3 separate regions of the Homo sapiens genome follow, and all the other regions are linked to region 3. The links are contacts of gene promoters, found by promoter capture Hi-C in blood cells and fetal thymus (Javierre and others, 2016). All regions are on one chromosome and are shown on one strand. The core of a region is centred on a gene start or on the middle of the fragment in contact, and the rest is flanking DNA. Distances in the headings are between cores, read along the strand shown.

Region 1 (2,806 bases), core at 208-2,707, 140 kb after region 3:
TCAGGAGTTCAAGACCAGTCTGGCCAACATGGCAGAACCTCATCTCTACTAAATATACAAAAATTTAGCCAGGTGTGGTGACAGGTGTCTGTCATCTCAGCTACTCGGGAGGCTGAGGCAGGGAGAATTGCTCGAACCCTGGAGGCAGAGGTTGCAGTGAGCCGAGATTGTGCCACTGCACTCCAGCCTGGGCAACAGAGCAAGACTCCATCTCAAAATAATAACAATAATAATAATAATAAAGACAATTTCTGAAACATCAAAAATATATTTATCAGAAACTGGAAATATTAAAAGGTGGTATACTAAAAGCGTTCCAATAAAGTCAGGAGCCAGACAGGTACGACTGTCACCAATAGTATATAGAGTTTAGCTCATGAAACAAATTTTGGAAATGCATTCACTAACTGACTATATTTTGAAAAAGAAGAGATAAAGCTATTATCATTTGCAGATAATGTAATTATATGCCCTTGTAATCCAAAATAAATAACTAAAATAATTTTAGAGCTAATAAGTTCTATAAAGTTGCTGTATATAAGAAAATTTACAAATATCAATAGTTTTTCTCTATAAGTAAAAGTAACATACAAAAGGGAAAAAAGAGAGAAAAATCTAATTCACATTAGTAACAAAATTTGATAATACCTAGGTATAAATTTAACAAGAAAGGAATAGGAAGAGGCATATCCTTTTCCCAATTGAAAATACAATCCCAGTAAGATACATTCCAATTATTAGATAAATTTTAAAGTATTCCAAGTAGAAGCTTGACTCTTTTTTTTTCCTTTTGAAATCTGACCAGTGAGCACAAAAGCTACAAAATTTTTGAAAATAATAATGAGGTTTGTGGCCTTCCAGGAATTTAAATGTATTTCTTTGTTTTAACTATAAAGTATAGTACAGATACAACAACAGAGAAATAGATCGCTTGACCTAAATAAAGCTCATAAAATAATGCAGGTACATATTAGAATGTACAAATGATAAATCTGGCATTTCATTTCAGTGGGGAAAGAATATTTTATCCAACAAATAGTACTGAGACAATTAGTTGTCAAATGAAAAAGAATAGTTGGATCCTTGTTTCACAATTGTACCGTAATAAATGACAGATCACTTAAAATGTAAATGTGAAAACAGACCAGGCGTGGTGGTAGCTCATGCCTGTAATCCCAGCACTTTGGGAGGCCAAGGCGGGCGGATCACGAGGTCAGGAGATCCAGACCATCCTGGCTAACACGGTGAAACCCTCTCTCTAATAAAAATACAAAAAATTGGCCAGGCATGGTGGCGGGCACCTGTAGTCCCAGCTACTCGGGAGGCTGAGGCAGGAGAATGGCGTGAACCCGGAAGGCGGAGCTTGCAGTGAGCGAGATCGCGCCACTGCACTCCAGCCTGGGAGACAGAGCCAGACTTCATCTCAAAAAAAAAAGAATGCCACCATTTCCTGTATCTTTACTGAGAGAGAGAATACAATAAAGCTATTTGAGAAGAGCACCCATGATGACACTGGTGCCAGGATGTAGGGGCCAAAGCGGACTGAGGCAAGAGGATCACCAAGAGCAGGGCTGATGAGAAAGGTGGGTGAGCTCAAGGGACAGACAACGCTCACTTAAATTTTGTGTCTAGTGATAAAGTTTGGTTTTTCCATAAAATAAGTAAATACTGGAAAAGGCCTGGCCAAAAGCTAAAAAGAAAAGGTTGGAAGTTTAGATAAACAGCTAATGTGCAGTTATTGAAATTCTTTCATAAAATGACAAATAATAAGGGATCCACTAGTCATAAAAACTCTGGAGGTGAAAGAATCCCACGTAAGCAATGCATTATTTCAAAAAGTTATTTCAAAAGCAGTTTCTTAACACTGGCATTTCCTTAACCTAGCAGCTTCTTCAAAGAAATGTCTAGGCTAATGTACGCATGAGCAGCAAATCTCCCTGAATTTTCCACATAGTTGCTTCACCTCTCTGCTTTCCTCCTGTTTTGAAGACTTGACCTCTCAAGTGACATCTATTCTACCAGCATCACCAAAACGAAGTAAAAAATAAATAAAAGCAGGTAATGTCAATCCTGAAGTGATGTGAACTGTGACAGAATTTTTTTTTTTTTTTTTTCTGTATTTACTTAAAACAACTCCAAAGCTTCAGTTCCATCATTGTAAGGTTTCAGAAGTTTAGCCCTTTTAGAGGGAAAAACCGTCTGTCCTGCTGTTCCTCTGCAGGCGATGGAACACTGCAAAGCTTTATTATCTTGAAAGCACTTCTTTGGTAATTCTCAAGACCTCATTTCTCAATCCAGCAGCGTTGTTGAGCAACTGCATGTGTTCTTCAGAATTAGAATTACTGTCCACAGGGAATCTGGCTCCCATGCCCCTTTTAAGTCATTTTCTGTGTACTTTGAGACAGAACATTTGGGACATGGCCCATGTAAAATGTCATATATCTGCGAAAAAGCTTTTACTTATCCAAAGGTGTTTGTGGTTTAAAAAAGAAGAGAAAGAGAGAGAGAAAGTCTTGGTTTCCTTAAACATCTTTGTGCCATCTCAAATCTGAATATTAGGTATTGTCACCCTACTACCCATCAGGAGTCCAGTGGTCTTTCTCTCCTTCTGCCATCATTTCAAAGATGGATTTTTATATTAATCATTCACTCTTTAGTGTGAATACATTCAATCATTTTAAGAGTTTGAGGAATTTTCATTTAAGCCTTGTTTCTAATTGTTTAAAATATTTTTGTCTCTCATAAAATTAATTTTAGGCATCATATGAAACTTAAATACAATTATGAATTCTCATTGCATTCCATG
Region 2 (3,155 bases), core at 455-2,954, 190 kb after region 3:
GTGATACACAGAAATAATGGTAGAAAAAGGAAGGACAGACATAGAAGGATTTTATTACATAAGAATAATACTAAGAAACTGGAAATAACCCTAGTCTCCAATAAGAGATATTGTTTAAACAAATTACAGTACATTAGTGTAATGGGAAATTATGTAGGTATTAGACTGAAACAGGATTATGTACAACTATATGGAAAGATATCCATGACATATTGTTAAGGGAGGTGAGCAAATTATAGAATATATACAATATTAACAAATTTCTGTTAATAAAAATGCATAGCTATGTTATATATGTCTATGCAGGAAAAAAAAGTCAAAACACCACATGGGGAAGTTGGGTTGTTTGAAAGGAGTTGTTTTCTAACTTTACACACTGCTGTGTTTACATTGTTTACAATGAGCTATATAAAGAAAATGTTTTTAGCTGGCCTAAAATTCAAGGGAAAAAATCACTTTACAAAAAAGAGAAACCTAGGCCTCATATATTTCACCTAGTCCTCTGAGCTCATCATCTTCGTAAATAAAATAAGTCATTGCTAACATTTGAAATTCTTAAAGTAGATGGCACTGAAATAAGCTTATGCCTATCCCTAGAATCTGGCAAAAGAATTTTTTTAGGAAAAGAGAAAACGAATTTTACTAAAAATAGATTTAAAAGGTTAACATTAGCTGTAGACTGCATTACAAGTATTATTTTCTTTATTAAAATTTTGGCCCATTACCAATTAAATCTCTCTCTCTTTACAGGAAAAAAAAAAAAAGATGGAAGGACTTCCCTTTAATACATGAGAGTAAAGGTGTATACACAAAAACATAAAATCATACACAAAAGCCCCCTTTCCACCAATGTAAATCTTTTCTTTGAAGCAGTTATCATACTTAAAATCACATCATTATTTTGGCAACTAGTTGTTAAAGGTCTGGGCTCCTCTGATTGGGCTATAAGCTCCCTGAGCTCAGGAATCCTATCGTTCTGGTTCCTTACTGTATTCACAGTGCCTAAGAAATGGTAGTTGTACAACTATTTGTGGAGGAAAGGAAGGCAGGAAAAGGAAGAGGGAGAAAGGAGGGAGGAATGAAATTACATTTTCAAAGAAAGAAAGGAATATCCAAGGCCATATCTGCTAAAGAGATGTTATCAGTGTCATGTTATCAATGTTTACATGTAAGAGTCATGTAATCAATGTCACACAACTGACCCTGGAACTCTTTTCTAATAGCTCACTCAGAATTCTTTCTGCTGTACTAGGCAACAGATCCTATTCTGTTTCAAGTTCGTGGGTTTCCTCCCAATTTGAATCAAAAGAATATTGCTGTATATAGTATAGTTAATTTGATCTAAATTTAGGCAAGCACTTCAACACCTATTACCAAAATGTCAGATATGTTACTGTAAAAACATTTGAATCAGATCATTTGATTAGGACAAAAAGACGTGAACATCTTGACATAATTTCCCTTCTTTCCTTTGTCTCCAACCTGTATGGAGGTGAGTCTAGAAAACTCTTTTATTTTGTGATGTTATTGAATTTCATCATATCAGGCAAAAATGTAAGGCCATAGCATTGTGTTCAGAAAAACTAAGTAAGTTCTTTGAAAATACCATTTTTATTAAGGCTTTCTTTGTTGAAAAGAGAAAACCACCTGAAAGCTGATACATTTCCATATTCTATAATCCATTGTAATTCTGTACTAGTCCAGCTTTGAAAAATAATTTTAGCCATTGGAATAGTATTTATTTATATATTCTAAAGTCATATCCAAAATCTAAAGATCTTGCTGAGGCTAAATATTGTTTTGGTGGAGTGAGAAACAATGAAGATGAAAAGAGAATTAGACTACTGAAGTCTCATATTTAAGACATAATTAAGTCTAGGAAACCAAAGCTGAGTTTAGGCTTATTCTCCGAATTCTAGAGTTGCTAGAAAGAAAACTTAAAGGGTATCATTTGCATTGGAAATAGTGCATAATATATACTTTGGAGACCAAAAAAAAAAAAAATGAAAATCATACAAGAACACACATCTGCATTATCATAAACTTGTTCTTTTTAGGGATGGGATTCACTCCTTAATTCAACAGATATTATGTGTCAGAGAGTTTTTCAGGGAGTTAGTATTATATATAAGTCACAATGTAAATCACACCCAGAAGGCAACTGAAAGATAACATATTAAATAATTCCATCTTTATTTAAAAATTAAAAGAGTATATTATAGTGCTTCAGAATTGCTATGGACTGAATTGTATCCCACAGAATTTATATGTCGAAGCCCAAACCTTCGATGTGAAATGTGACTGTATCTGGCGATAAAGGCTCTAGGAGGTAATTAAGGTTAAATGAGGTCATAAAAATGAGGTACTAATACCACAAGACTGTGACCTTATAAAAAGTGTAAGATCTCTGTCTCTCTCTCTCTCTAATATAAACACACACAGAGACACACACACAAACACACACTTTGCTCTCTCTCTCTCTCCCTCTCCCCCTCTGTATCAAGTCATCAATGACAAGGAAAGCAGCCATTTGTGAGCCAGGAAGAGAATCCTCAAAAAAAAAAAAAAAAACACATTTGGCCAACACCTTGATCTCTGACCCACCAGCCACCAAAACTGTGAGAAAATAAGTTTCAGTTTTTGAAGCCAACAGTCCATTGTATTTTGTTATGGAGGCCCAAGCTGACTAAGACAAGAACATAGATTGTTTTTTTAATAAGACGGATCTAATTTTAAATTCTTCCCTAGCTAACCCTCTAAATCTCAGTTTTCTGTTTGTAGAAAGTTATGAACCCACCTCCAAACTCTGCTTTCAGAAAGAAAGCTTATAATACATACAAATCAGTTATTATGGAATTAAATAAATGGTAACTATTATTATTTTATGTTTTATTCATTATTTAAACTGTTTAGCAAATCAAAGACTTTATAACTTAAAAAGAACTTAAATAATACATGTTTAAATGCTAATTAATTATTAATAATCACCTGTCCAGAAAGACGTGATTTGTCTTTTATGAGTCTAATCATTTGTCTTGATCTTCAACTTCAAGGTAGTGTGACCTTTGAATGGCTAGCAGCATGTCAGAAGGCACAAATGGCCATTAAGCAAGAAAAAAGATTGTAAAATTATTCTATTGTTGTTGAATACACTC
Region 3 (2,819 bases), core at 220-2,719:
AACCGACATTAATAAACCTCCGTAAGTAAGAACTCAATAAGCTGTTAAAACTCCTTTGAGGGAGAACTAAGGAAGCATACGTTAATGAAGCCCATTTTGATAAAGTCTTAAGATAATCATTAAACATTGAGGATTTTTTTTTATTGCCAAGTTATTTTAAAACAGACATCCCCATCTGTTCCTGAATTTTACCCCGTATTTATGCACCGCCCCGTTTCTCCTTGCCTTCAAGACCGGGCTCCGAGACACAGTGAGAGAGAGCAATGGAGGAAGCTCAGCAGTGTCCACTGTCGCCATTCCTTGGCCATAGAAAACAATGTATTTGAATTTTGATGTAAGCATAACAAATTGGTATGTCCATGGCATGCAACTTTGATTTTCATTTATTTATTTATAATAGCATGCCTTAAGTAATCGAACTCTTTTAAAAATACCCATTAAACGTTTGGATTTAAAGGGATTCCATGACATAGAGCAATTGACTCTGGGTGATATATATTTCTATTTTCTGTAACTGTTTTCTACATTACTAGAAATTTCATCAGAGTCTTTGCCACATTGTGTAAATATAGATCTCACAAATGAACTTTATGGTATTACAGATATGGCTTTTTTAAATTTTTGTCGTTCTTGTTTTTTGAAAACCATTTCACTGTGAGACACACTGCATCCATACATCTCTTGGTAGATTGATATTAAAATAGACAATTTCAGAATGTCAGTAGGATTTCAGTCCAAACCACTGAGATTTTATTCTTTTAAGTAGGGCAAATAATTTTATTTATTTCCTTATAATTCTTTATTATACACATGACCTTAAAAATTAAAAAAATATTTAAGAATAGAAACATAAGAGGTGGGTTTTTTAATTGTATTTTTTTCTCAAATATCTTTCAGCATATTATTTGTATGTGGCCTCCATTCTTTCCAGTGAGATAGAATTTAATCAATTGTTATGGTTTCAAAAATGTCAGAAAAATGCGACTTTTACAAAACAAAAAATTTTATATAGCAAAATAACTTGCTTTTTAAATAAATGCTGCTGTAAATAATTTTATAAAATTGAATGACTTCTTGGTTTATCCATTGCAGTGTATTTATTTCTCTTATATAAATGGAAGAATAATTCCTATATGTGAAGAATTATAATCATAGTTTTTAACCTATTTCTTTGTCATTCAGAAGATGAAGATGACACGTTGATTTCTTGTTTGAAATTAACCAAGTCCCGAGAAAAGAAAGTGAATAGTGTTAGCACGAGGAGGAAGGAAGAAATGGAGATTAGATTGGATACTCTTTCTGCATCACTGGGTAGATCCAGCACTTTAAATAACTGCAACTTGGAAGATAAATTAGCTTGGTATGAAGGTGAAGCTTACATGTGGCATCACTGGAAGCCTTTTCCTGAAAACCCTCTCTGGACATGTCTTGATTTCCAAATAGCACAAGTTGGACCCTGGGACCACTGCTCCTCTTGTATTCGCCACACACGTCTCAAGTCTTCCTGCTCAGATATGGATCTCCTACATTCATGGGTAAGTTTGCAGACTACGGAAATGTGTCATCTTATCTGGGGTTTTGTACTGTCGGGAAAGAAACAGATAGCAAAAGTGCTAATCAGTGAAATTTATCAGTTTCAGAAAAGTTACCAGAGCAAGAGTTGTCTTTCCAAAAAGCAACCAAACTCTTGTGACTTTTACCCATATTAACATTTCATATATTCCTTTGTGTACAAATTAATGACTGCATAAAATTTTTCCAGGGATTTCTTTTTGATTGAAGGAAGACTTCGTGTGTTGACTGAGATCAAGAAAATGTGAAGTGAACTGTCTAAATTATTGCAATTATAATGAAATTTCACTGAAAAATAATAGCTAATTTTAATGAGCATTTTATTTGGGCCTGCCATTTTCCTAAGCATTTTATATGTATTATCTCATTTAAATCTCACATCAACTCTATAAGGTAAGGACTTACATTATGAAATATTACCTTAAGAAATATTATTTTTGGCCAGGCACGGTGGCTCATGCCTGTAATCCCAGCACTTTTGGGAGGCCGAGGCGGGAGGATCATGAGGTCAGGAGATCGAGACCATCCTGGCTAACAAGGTGAAACCCCGTCTCTACTAAAAATACAAAAAAATTAGCCGGGCGTGGTGGCGGGCACCTGTAGTTCCAGCTACTCGGGAGGCTGAGGCGGAAGAATGGCGTGAACCCAGGAGGTGGAGCTTGCAGTGAGCCGAGATCGCGCCACTGCCCTCCAGCCTGGGCGACTGAGCAAGACTCGTCCTCAAAAAAAAAAAAAAAAAAAAAAAAAAAAAAAAGAAATATTATTTCCCCTCATTTTACAGTTGAGAAAATGGAGGCACAAAAAGTTGGTAACAGGTGCAAAGTCAGACAGCTAACAGGAGGTAGAGCCAAGACCTATAACCTAGGTCTTGCTTTTAGCTAGAGCTCCTGCTTTTAGCTACTACATTAGAGTGTTTTCCATATACGAGGGCAGACTCTAAGGCTATTATGTGATACGTGAGAAAGAGTATGCTCTCTGGAGTCAAACAAATTTGGATGGATTCTGGCTGTGCTACTTTTTTTTTGGGCTTGGATAAGTTATTTAAACCTTTTAATCTTAACTTTCTTAACTAAAAAATGGAAATAGTCAAGAAGCTAAAGTCAAATATTATAAATCTTCTAGTACTTAAGAGTGGTACTTTTTTTTCAATTTCCTTGTAAATTGCTCAAGGCATGTTTTATAACTTTACCTACAGCTCCTCTGGTCATGTGTGTTTTCAGTGAATGAATGGGACAATTCTGTGTATC

Evidence for each region. Contacts are between HindIII fragments. The CHiCAGO score rates a contact against its expected background, and 5 or more counts as called.
Region 1: a contact is called between a fragment that was not itself captured here and the fragment with the promoter of SAMSN1-AS1 in region 3, in 1 of 17 cell types (activated CD4 T cells). The highest score is 5.3, in activated CD4 T cells.
Region 2: a contact is called between a fragment that was not itself captured here and the fragment with the promoter of SAMSN1-AS1 in region 3, in 1 of 17 cell types (neutrophils). The highest score is 5.3, in neutrophils.

The regions. Positions count from the first base shown.
Region 1 is chr21:14,437,884-14,440,689 of GRCh38, reverse strand. No RefSeq gene overlaps it. Among named protein-coding and RNA genes, the nearest start is that of HSPA13, 56 kb to the right of the region's middle. The HindIII fragment of the contact is 1,372 bases long and covers 772-2,143 here.
Region 2 is chr21:14,393,908-14,397,062 of GRCh38, reverse strand. No RefSeq gene overlaps it. Among named protein-coding and RNA genes, the nearest start is that of HSPA13, 12 kb to the right of the region's middle. The HindIII fragment of the contact is 2,244 bases long and covers 583-2,826 here.
Region 3 is chr21:14,580,852-14,583,670 of GRCh38, reverse strand. SAMSN1-AS1 (SAMSN1 antisense RNA 1) reads right to left here and starts at 1,469. Exons shown (of 5, transcript NR_046512.2): 1 at 1,380-1,469. It also overlaps a transcript of SAMSN1 not described here. The HindIII fragment of the contact is 2,204 bases long and covers 1,377-2,819 here.